2 separate regions of the Homo sapiens genome follow, and region 1 is linked to region 2. Evidence: promoter capture Hi-C in 16 types of primary human blood cells and fetal thymus (Javierre and others, 2016). All regions are on one chromosome and are shown on one strand. Each heading gives the region's core, a stretch centred on a gene start or on the middle of the fragment in contact. The rest is flanking DNA. Distances are from core to core; before and after follow the strand shown.

Region 1 (5,013 bases), core at 2,377-4,876, 160 kb after region 2:
TCTACAAGGACACTTTAAAAAAGATTGTCTGAATAGAAATAAGCTGCCCCTCATCCATGCCCCTCATGTCAAGGGAATCACTGGAAGGCCCACTGCCCCAGGGGATGAAGGTCCTTTCAGTCAGAAGCCACTAACCAGATAAGCCAGCAGCAGGACTGAGGGTGCCCGGGGCAAGCGCCAGCCCATGCCCCAGGTATGCTTGACCATTGGGGGCCAGAAGGTTAACTGTCTCCTGAACACTGGCATGGCCTTCTCAGTCTTAGTCTCTGGTCCTGGACAACCGTCCTCCAGATCTGTCACTACCCGAGGGGTCCTAGGATAGGCAGTCACTAGATACTTCTCCCAGCCACTAAGTTGTGACTGGGGAACTTCATTCTTTTCACTTGCCTTTCTAATTATGCCTGAAACCCCCACACCCTTGTTAGGGAGATACATTCTAGCAAAAGCAGGGGCCATTATACACCTGAACATGGGAGAAGGAACACCGTTTGCTGTCCCCTACTTGAGGAAGGAATTAATCCTGAAGTCTGGGCAACAGAAGGACAATATGGATGAGGGAAGAATGCCCGTCCCGTTCAAGTTAAACTAAAGGATTCCGCCTCCTTTCCCCACCAAAGGCAGTACCCTCTTAGACCCGAGGCCCAACAAGGACTCCAAAAGATTGTTAAGGACCTAAAAGCCCAAGGCCTAGTAAAACCATGCAATAGCCCCTGCAATACTCCAATTTTAGGAGTACAGAAACCCAATGGACAGTGGAGGTTAGTGCAAGATCTCAGGATTATCAATGAGGCTGTTGTTCCTCTATACCCAGCTGTACCTAATCTTATACTCACTCTGCTTTCCCAAATACCAGAGGAAGCAGAGTGGTTTACAGTCCTGGACCTTAAGGATGCCTTTTACTGCATCCCTGTACATCCTGACTCTCAATTCTTGCTTGCCTTTGAAGATCCTTTGAATCTAATGTCTCAACACACCTGGACTGTTTTACCCCAAGGGTTCATGGACAGCCCCCATCTATTTGGCCAGGCATTAGCCCGAGACTTGAGCCAGTTCTCATACTTGGGCACTCTTGTCCTTCGGTATGCGGATGATTTACTTTTAGCCACCCATTCAGAAACCTTGTGCCATCAAGCCACCCAAGTGCTCTTAAACTTCATGGCCACCTGTGGCTACAAGGTTTCCAGACCAAAGGCTCAGCTCTGCTCACAGCAGGTTAAATACTTAGGGCTAAAATTATCCAGACACACCAGGGCCCTCAGTGAGGAATGCATCCAGCCTATACTGGCTTATCCTTATCCCAAAACCATAAAGCAATTAAGAGGGTTCCTTGGCATAACAGGCTTCTGCCGAATATGGATTCCCAGGTACAGTGAAATAGCCAGGCCATTATACACACTAATTAAGGAAACTCAGAAAGTGAATACCCATTTAGTAAGAAGGACACCTGAAGCAGAAGTGGCTTTCCAGGCCCTAAAGAAGGCCCTAATCCAAGCCCTAGTGTTAAGCTTGCCAAAGGGGCAAGACTTTTCTTTATGTGTCACAGAAAAAACAGGAATAGCTCTAGGATTCCTTACACAGGTCCGAGGGACCAGGTTGCAACCCATGGCATACCTGAGTAAGGAAACTGATGTAGTGGCAAAGGGTTGGCCTCATTGTTTATGGGTAATGGCAGCAGTAGCAGTCTTAGTATCTGAAGCAGTTAAAATGATACAGGGAAGAGATCTTACTGTGTGGATGTCTCATGATGTGGACGGCATACTCACTGCTAAAGGAGACTTACGGCTGTCAGACAACCGTTTGCTTAAATATCAGGCTCTATTACTTGAAGGGCCAGTGCTGCGACTGCGCACTCGTGCAACTCTTAATCCAGCCACATTTCTTCCAGACAATGAAGAAAAGATAAAACATAACTGTCAACAGGTGATTGCTCAAACCTACGCCGCTCGAGGGGACCTTCTAGAGGTTTCCTTGACTGATCCCGACCTCAACTTGTATACTGACGGAAGTTCCTTTGTAGAAAAACGACTTCGAAAAGCAGGGTATGCAGTGGTCAGTGATAATGGAATACTTGAAAGTAATCCCCTCACTCCAGGAACTAGCGCTCAGCTGGCAGAACTAATAGCCCTCACTCAGGCACTAAAATTAGGAGAAGGAAAAAGGGTAAATATATACACAGACTCTAAGAATGCTTACCTAGTCCTCCATGCCCATGCAGCAATATGGAGAGAAAGGGAATTCCTAACTTCCGAGGGAACACCTATCAAATCTCAGGAAGCCATTAGGAGATTACAATTGGCTGTACAGAAACCTAAAGAGGTGGCAGTCTTACACTGCCGGGGTGATCAGAAAGGAAAGGAAAGAGAAATAGAAGGGAACCGCGAAGCAGATACTGAAGCCAAAAGAGCCGCAAGGTGGGACCCTCCATTAGAAATGCTTATAGAAGGACCCCTAGTATGGGGTAATCCCCTGTAGGAAACCAAGCCCCAGTACTCAAAAGAAATAGGATGGGGAACCTCACGAGGACATAGTTTCTTCCCCTCAGGATGGCTAGCCACCGAAGAAGGAAAAATACTTTTGCCTGCAGCTAACCAATTGAAATTACTTAAAACCCTTCATCAGACCTTTCACTTAGGCATTGATAGCACCTATCAGACGGCCAAATCATTATTAACTGGATCAGGACTTTTCAAAACTATCAAGCAGATAGTCAGGGCCTATGAAGTGTGGCAAAGAAATAATCCCCTGCCTTATCGCCAAGCTCCTTCAGGAGAACAAAGAACAGGCCATTACCCAGGAGAAGACTGGCAACTAGATTTTACCCACATGCCCAAATCTCAGGGATTTCAGTATCTACTAGTCTGGATAGATACTTTCACTGGTTGGGAGGAGGCCTTTCCTTGTAGGACAGAAAAGGCCGAAGACGTAATAAAGGCACTAATTCATGAAATAATTCCCAGATTCGGACTTCCCTGAGACTTACAGAGTGACAATGGCCCCGCTTTCAAGGCTGCAGTAACCCAGCGAGTATCGCAGACGTTACTTAGGCATACAATATCACTTACACTGCGCCTGGAGGCCACAATCCTCAGGGAAGGTCGAGAAAATGAACGAAACACTCAAACAACATCTAAAAAAGCTAACTCAGGAAACCCACCTCGCATGGCCTGCTCTGTTGCCCATAGCCTTATTAAGAATACAAAACTCCCCCCAAAAAGCAGGACTTAGCCCATACGAAATGCTGTATGGACAGCCCTTCCTAACCAATGACCTTGTGCTTGACCGAGAGACGGCCAATTTAGTTGCAGACATCACCTCCTTAGCCAAATATCAACAAGTTCTTAAAACATTACAGGGAACCTGTACCCGAGAGGAGGGAAAGGAATTCCACCCTGGTAACATGGTATTAGTCAAGTCCCTTCCCTCTAAGTCCCCACCCCTAGATACATACTGGGAAGGACCCTACCCAGTCATTTTATCTACCCTGAGTGCAGTTAAAGTGTCTGGAGTGGAGTCTTAGACACATCAAACCCTGGATACCGCCAAAGGAACCCAAAAATTCAGGAGACAACGCTAGCTATTCCTGTGAACCTCTAGAGGATCTGCACCTGCTCTTCAAGCGACAACTGCGAGGAAAGTAACTGGAATCGTAGAGCTCCATGGCCCCCCCCGTCATATTTTTCTCTTTACTGTTGTCTTACCCCCCTTTCACTATCACCTCACCCCCTCCATGCCGCTATACTACCAGTAGCTCCCCTTACCAAGAGCTTCTATGGAGAATGCGGCTTCCCAGAAATATTGATGCCCCATTGTATAGGAGTTTTTCTAAAGGAAACCCCACTTTCACCATCCACACCCATATGCCCCTGCACTTCGGGCCACACATTTCAATCCCTGTATCTTTAACCTCCTTGTTAAGTTTGTCTCTTCCAGAATCAAAGCTGTGAAACTACAAATGTTCTTCAAATGGAGCCCCAGATGCAGTCCATGACTAAGATCTACCGTGGACCCCTGGACTGGCCTGCTAGCCCATGCTCCGATGTTGATGACATCGAAGGCACCACTCCCGAGGAAATCTCAACTGCATGACCTCTACTACGCCCCAATTCAGCAGGAAGCAGTTACAGCGGTCATCGGCCAACCTCCCCAACAGCACTTGGGTTTTCCTGTTGAGAGGGGGTACTAAGAGACAGGACTAGCTGGACTTCCTAGGCCGACTAAGAATTCCTAAGCCTAGCTGGGGAAGGTGACCACACCCACCTTTAAACATGGGGCTTGTAACTCAGCTCACACCAGACCAATCAGGTAGTAAAGAGAGCTCACTAAAATACCAATGAGGCTAAAAACAGGTGGTAAAGAAATAATCAGATCATCTGTCGCCTGAGAGCACAGGGGGAGGGACAATGATCAGGATATAAACCCAGGCATTCAAGCCGAATCGGGCAACCCTCTTTGGGTCCCCTCCCGTTGCATGGGAGCTCTGTTTTCACGATATTAAATCTTGCAACTGCACACTTTTCTGGTCCATGTTTGTTCCGGTTTGAGCTGAGCTTTTGCTTGCCATCCACCACTGCTGATGGCTGCTGTCGCAGACGCCCCGCTGACTTCCACCCCCCTCCAGATCCAGCAGGGTGTCCACTGCGCTTCTGATCCAGCGAGGCACCGGTTGCTGCTCCCGGGCTAGAGACTCGCCATTGTTCCCGCACAGCTAAGTGCCTGGGTTCATCCTAATTGAGGTGAACACTAGTCGCTGGGTTCCACAGTTCTCTTCCGTGACCCACAGCTTCTAATAGAGCTATAACACTCACCGCATGGCCCAAGGTTCCATTCCTTGGAATCCATGAGGCCAAGAACCCCAGGTCAGAGAGCAAGAGCCTTGCTGCCATTGGGACCGGCCTGCCACCACCCTGGGAGCAAAGACCGGCCAGTAACAATGCCTTGCTAGGGCCCAGTGTCTAGACAAGGTCTACTGTCTGGGCTGCTGCATTCCAAATACGGCGACACCTGGCTAGTGCC
Region 2 (5,639 bases), core at 401-2,900:
CACCCTGCAGAGACATGAACCGGGAGCCCTGGCCAAGGTTGAGGGAGGTTCAGCCCAGCCCTGAGGTCCCCAACTCCTAGCATTCTGGGTCATTCCAAAAAATGGCCTGAAATTCTCCACATCTTCAAAGTAAAGTGCACTTGAGGTTTGTAGAGGCAGAAACGCAGGTGCTATTGCCCCTTGTCAAAGGGCCTTTTAGGGGGAGAAGCTCCAGGTCCCTTCTCTCCCCGTCCCCTGGGACCCTTCAACCTTTCACTCTCTCTGGGTCCTATGGGGGCTCACACTTGGCGCCCCGCCTCCTCCCACCTCATCCTCCCCAGACATCTTGTCTGATGGGGCCGCTCCCTACTCAACGCCTCCCCAGGCCTTTGAGGACCCAGGGCCCTCAGGGATCAGGCCCCTCCACCTTCCCATTCCCCGAGGCCCTTTAACCTCCAGCTCCCCCTCCCTCCTCTGGACCAGAGGTACCCCTCCCCATTCTTAACTTGGGTATCTGTGAACCTGGATGGAAAAACGTCTTTATTTACCCCAACAACTCCAACTGAAGTCCAGCATTCATTCCTTTGGGGGTGCAGTTGACCCCAGCCAGCAGGGCCTGTGGCTCCACGGCCAGCAGAAGCAGTGTTTACATCCCCATGTTACCGCCCTCACCGAAGGTGTCTCCAGTGGCAGCCCTCTGCACAGGGCTGCTGCGAAGTGTCCACTGGTATCAGACGACAGACCGACCAGAACCTGCCATTAACATGCTGATAAAGAAGCCCATAGGCCACGCTGTCATGAATTGTTTCATGTATTTTGATAACTGTGTTTTGATAGAATTGTTCCCCTTTGTGACCCCATGGTCTTTGTTTTATGCGTTTAAATCTACTTGACGACATCGTTCTGAAAAGGACACCCAGGCTTCGCCAGGCAGCCCAGGGTACTAGGAACACACACAGTGTGAAGACCGCAGCTCCAGGCTGTGCGCGCGGCGTTATCTCCTGCTGCCCCGACCTGCTTTTGCTTGGGAGCCTCTGCCCAGGTCACGGCCAGCTCCCGCTTCCCATCCTTCCTCTTCAGGCTTGACATTCACCTCCAAGGGGGGTTCTGCCTTCTCTCACAACTCCGCAGCCTTCACCCCATCAGCTGACGCACTGTCACCAGATTCTGACTCTCGTGATGGGACCTGGGTCTGAAGGGGCCCTGCAGAAAATGCAGGAGCAATGATGAGAATGGAAACAGCTTCCGGTTCCGTGGACAGCGAGGACTCGGGAACACTGCTCAGCCATGGCCTCTGTGGTTCTTCCAACGACCCTATGAGGTTGAGAAATGCTGTCAATTCCCCTTTCCTGGAGGAGGAAACTGAGGCACAGAGGAGACTGGACACGGACAGACCCCTCCAGAGCGGGGAGAACGCATCCCCCAACGTTTCTGGGATAGGCTGGGCCCGGGGGTCCCCACCAGAAAGGACCCCTGCGTGTCTGTAGCCTCGGGTTTTCTCGACCAGGCCGACCAGAGTCCCAAGGCCTGCCGGGTGGGTCCAGGCCCGGAAGGCCAGGCGGGGCCCTGTCGGGGCCTGGGCGGGGCTGGCGGAGGGGCCGGGCCGCCCCTTCCAGCGAGGGCGGGCTGGGCGGTCGCCTTTAAAGGCGCGGGACCCGCCGCCCGCGGACCGTCAGGCTGGAGGGAGCTGGTCCCTGCGCTCCCTGCGCCCTGGGGATGCCCCTGCCGCCCTGACGCCCGCCAGCCTGAGCCACCGGCGCATGTGACCGCGCGTCCGCCCCAGTCCCATCCGTAGGCGCCCGGCGCCCGGCCCCGCAGCGGCCTCGTTGTCCCCGCCGGCCCCCGCCCGGTCTCCCGCGCTGCCACCCGCCGCCGGCCCTGCCGCCATGCAGGCGCGAGCGCTGCTCCTGGCCGCGTTGGCCGCGCTGGCGCTGGCCCGGGAGCCCCCTGCGGCGCCGTGTCCCGCGCGCTGCGACGTGTCGCGGTGTCCCAGCCCCCGCTGCCCCGGCGGCTACGTGCCCGACCTCTGCAACTGCTGCCTGGTGTGCGCCGCCAGCGAGGGCGAGCCCTGTGGCGGCCCTCTGGACTCGCCTTGCGGCGAGAGCCTGGAGTGCGTGCGCGGCCTATGCCGCTGCCGCTGGTCGCACGCCGTGTGTGGCACCGACGGGCACACCTATGCCAACGTGTGCGCGCTGCAGGCGGCCAGCCGCCGCGCGCTGCAGCTCTCCGGGACGCCCGTGCGCCAGCTGCAGAAGGGCGCCTGCCCGTTGGGTAAGCGCTCGGGGGCCAGGGAGGAAGTGAAGCTTCTTTCTCTTGGGGAAACTAAGGCCGGGAGTTAGGGCCGAGCTCGAGGTCGCCCTTCCCTGGGCACCACCGGGTGGCCCTTCAGAAATCATCCCACCAGCCCTCTGGTCTTTCAGATGAAGAAACTGAGGCCCGGAAAGGTAAACCGCTGTCCCCAAGGTCACAGAATTAGAGTCAAAAGGGAAACCCGGTGGTCTCCTGGCCACCCGAGGGGCCTCATCTAGGACTGTTTCCAGCTCTGGTCTCTTCAGAACTGATGTCTCGTGCCCATTCCCTTGATCCTTGGACCCCTGCTCTGTCCGGGTATTGAGTGAAGGGCACTCTTTCCTGCCCTAACTCTCCAGCCGGGGTGCCCTCTTGGGTGATGCCTTCTTTCCTGGAGACTGTGGTTAAGTGCATGTCTCCACAGGACTGTGTGGGAAGGGTCAGGGTGCAGGTCCCTGAACTGCTTAGGGCGCCCCAGGGAGAGGCTGCTTGGGGGAGAGAATGTCGGGGTCAGACCCTAGAACAGCCTCCCTTGAGGCAGTCGGCTCTAGGTTGCATCTCACCGTGCAGGTTGACTCTGTACGTGGAGGAAAATGCTGGAAAACCTGCTGTACCTTTTTCCCTGTTTGGGGTGCCTCTTAGGAAAGCAGACTCTGCTGTGGCCGGACAGGGGTTCACTGAAGACAGGCGACGGGCCCCAGGTTCATGGATAGGAGTCAGGGTCCTGCGTGCCATCAGCTTGCAGGTGGCAGGGAGAGATGCAGTAGCTGCCAGAACAGGCTCCGTGGAGCCTCAGGAGCACCATGGGGAGCACCAACTGCCGGGGCTCCTGGGAAGCCTGCAGAGGGCTTCCTCATTTTTTCTGCGGTCCGCTGAACACAATTCCAAGTGTTTTCATGGTGTAAAAAGGTTGGGGAACTGAGCGCTCTATTCCTGTAGTGGAGACTCACAGGCTCAATCTATCAGAGGTTCTGAGAAAACCTGCAGTGTCCTCAATTGATGAAACCCAGGGCTTCCCCAGAGAATTTCAACAGAGAGCTCTTCTTTTCTGGCAGAACACGTGACCTCCTCCCAGCACGCTGGGGTTCCTGGGAGCCCCGTGTGGGAAGCATCATTCGAGATTAGCTAGGATTATGTGGAAGAGCCACCGCAGGGTTTGGCGGGGAGTCCCAGTCCACCTTGTGCTGGTACAACGCCTGAGACTGGGCAGTTTATACAGGACAGAGATGTATTTCTCGCAGCTCTGGAGGCTGGAAAGTTCAAGACCAAGGTGCCAGCAGGCTTGGTTGTCTGGTGAGGGCTGCACTCTGCGGAAGGGAGGAAGCTGCGTCTTCACACGGCAGAAGTGCAGGCAGGGACAAGGCCGAACGCTGCCTGTAGCCTCTCTCATAAGGAGCTTCTGCCCACGCTCGAAAGGAGGAACCCTTGTGACCTCATCACCTCCTAACACCCCACCTTTTCATACCATCACATTGGCAACACCTCTGTTTTGGAGGGAACATGTTCAAACCATCATGGGGGTGAGGGTGATGAGGTCCGGCTTGTGTTGAGACTGCCCAGGAGGCTGAGGGGTGCGAGTGTGGGGCTGCGGGGTCTTGGAGACGTTGTCATTGACTCAACGCCTGCTGCACTGTCACAGTGGCACATCAGTTTGGGGCTTGGTGCTGGGGTACCTTTCCTGGGCCTGCCCGTTGCAGCCCAGCTGTGTGCATGGGGGCCACCTCCCCACCCCGCTCCCCACCGTGGAAGGCACTATGAGAATAGGGCTGCAGGGCTCAGGGCTGGCAGGGAGCTGGAGGCAGCCTGGGTGTTCTGAGACACTCACTGACTTCTGGAGTTCGCGTCATGAGGCACTTTCTCTGTGTGCCTGGCTGGCCCCAGGCTGGTGACAGGGCACAGCCATGTAGCAGACCCTGTTGGTGCCCTCAAGCCTCACAGACCATCGAGGGGACAGAAGGGAGGAGGAAAATAGTCTTATCCCCAGAGACAGGTGCATGGGGAGCTCAGAAGGCCAGGAGGTGGCCGTGAGCGTGGGGGGTCATGGGCTGAGGCCTCAGTGCTCCGGGGTCTGCAGTCCCAGCGCACCTCTTCCCGATGAGGTGACCTTAGACCACTTGCTCACCGTGAGTTTCCTCAAATGAGAAGCGGGGACCTGCAGGAGAGCTGCTGCCAGACACGAAGGCACACGCCCCTTGCCTGATGGGCAACCCCCAGACCACGTTGTTTCATATGTTGTTATCACTGTGGCGACCGACCCAAATCTGTCTCACCCAGCAAGGTCAGGAGAGGCTCTCCAGAGGAGGCGCTTCTGTGCCAAGCTGTGGAGGAGGACTGGGAACTGCCTGGGGAAGGATGGGGAGGACAGAGAGGGCATGGGCAAGGCAGAGACCTGCACAGGACCCGAGAGCCCTGTCGCCACCAGAGCCCACGGAGCCAGGTGGGGAAATGGGGCCTGGTGGGGAGGGGAGGCAGAGAGTGCAGGTGGGAGGCTGCTGGCCATCTCCAGGGCGCCGTTCACACTGTGGGCGGTGTGCAGCCCTGCCACTGTAGCCCGGTGCACGGGGACCTTGGACAGCCAGCTTTCGGCAGGGCGACACGCAGAGTCCACTCCCTGTGGAGGCCTTGGGTGCCCGGCCTCTCCCCAGCCCTGTCTCATTTCCCACGGCAAGCCTGGTCCTTTCCCAGGCACCACAGATGTGCTGCTGGAGGCCAGGAAGGGTGAGGGACTGCTCTGAGGTCACATGGTCAGGAAGTGACCCGGCTGGGCCTGGCCTGGGTCTGGCTGGCTTTGCAGGCTATGCTCTGTGGGCCTCCTGGCTTTTCCTCTGCAAGGGGTGGCAGGGCCCCTGAGGCTGGGAGTCGGGTCAGGCCTGGGCCCCCGGCTCCATCAGGCTCAGCCTCCATGGAGTATTCCAGCAGCGTAGCCGGCTTCTGCCCTCCCGAGGTCCCAGCCAGAAGTTGCTGGGTGCCGGTCACACTTAGTGGTGTGCCAGGCGCTGCCGGGCATTTCTGGGAGGAAGTCCTGCCTGATGAGGGCAGCCTCCTGTGGGCTGAGGTTCCTTGTGCTCTCCTCTCCCCTCCCCATGTCAGCTCCTCCGCCTTCTCCCACCCTCTAGGCAGGAAGGTCTCCTTGGTCCCTTCTCGCCACCCTCCCCCCCGCACCCCCGCCCCAGTAAGCTCATCTGCCATGAAGTCCTCCCCAGGTGCTGGGACTTCGGGCCCTATCTCCAGCCCCCGGGTCTCTCCTGAGTTAGAGTCACGTGGAGATGCCTGCTGAGCCGCCTCGGGCTCTACTCTTCCCAGCCCCACTGAAAGGAGCACCACGATGTTCAGTGGGGAGCCTCGATCCCCTCCGTCCCTCCGCCCCTCAT

Evidence for each region. The method cuts DNA at HindIII sites, captures the fragments that hold promoters and counts their contacts. A CHiCAGO score of 5 or more calls a contact.
Region 1: a fragment that was not itself captured here is called in contact with the fragment with the promoter of HTRA3 in region 2 in 1 of 17 cell types (M0 macrophages); the score reaches 6.4 in M0 macrophages.

What each region holds. Positions count from the first base shown.
Region 1 is chr4:8,422,842-8,427,854 of GRCh38, forward strand. All of the region lies in intron 1 of ACOX3 (acyl-CoA oxidase 3, pristanoyl), which reads right to left. Among named protein-coding and RNA genes, the nearest start is that of ACOX3, 15 kb to the right of the region's middle. The HindIII fragment of the contact is 4,246 bases long and covers 1,504-5,013 here.
Region 2 is chr4:8,268,104-8,273,742 of GRCh38, forward strand. It overlaps HTRA3 (HtrA serine peptidase 3), which reads left to right and starts at 1,651. Exons shown (of 9, transcript NM_053044.5): 1 at 1,651-2,250. The coding sequence starts at 1,866. LOC105374373 (a long non-coding RNA gene) reads right to left here and starts at 2,078. Exons shown (of 2, transcript XR_001741572.2): 1 at 2,004-2,078; 2 at 503-1,293. The HindIII fragment of the contact is 2,501 bases long and covers 1-2,280 here.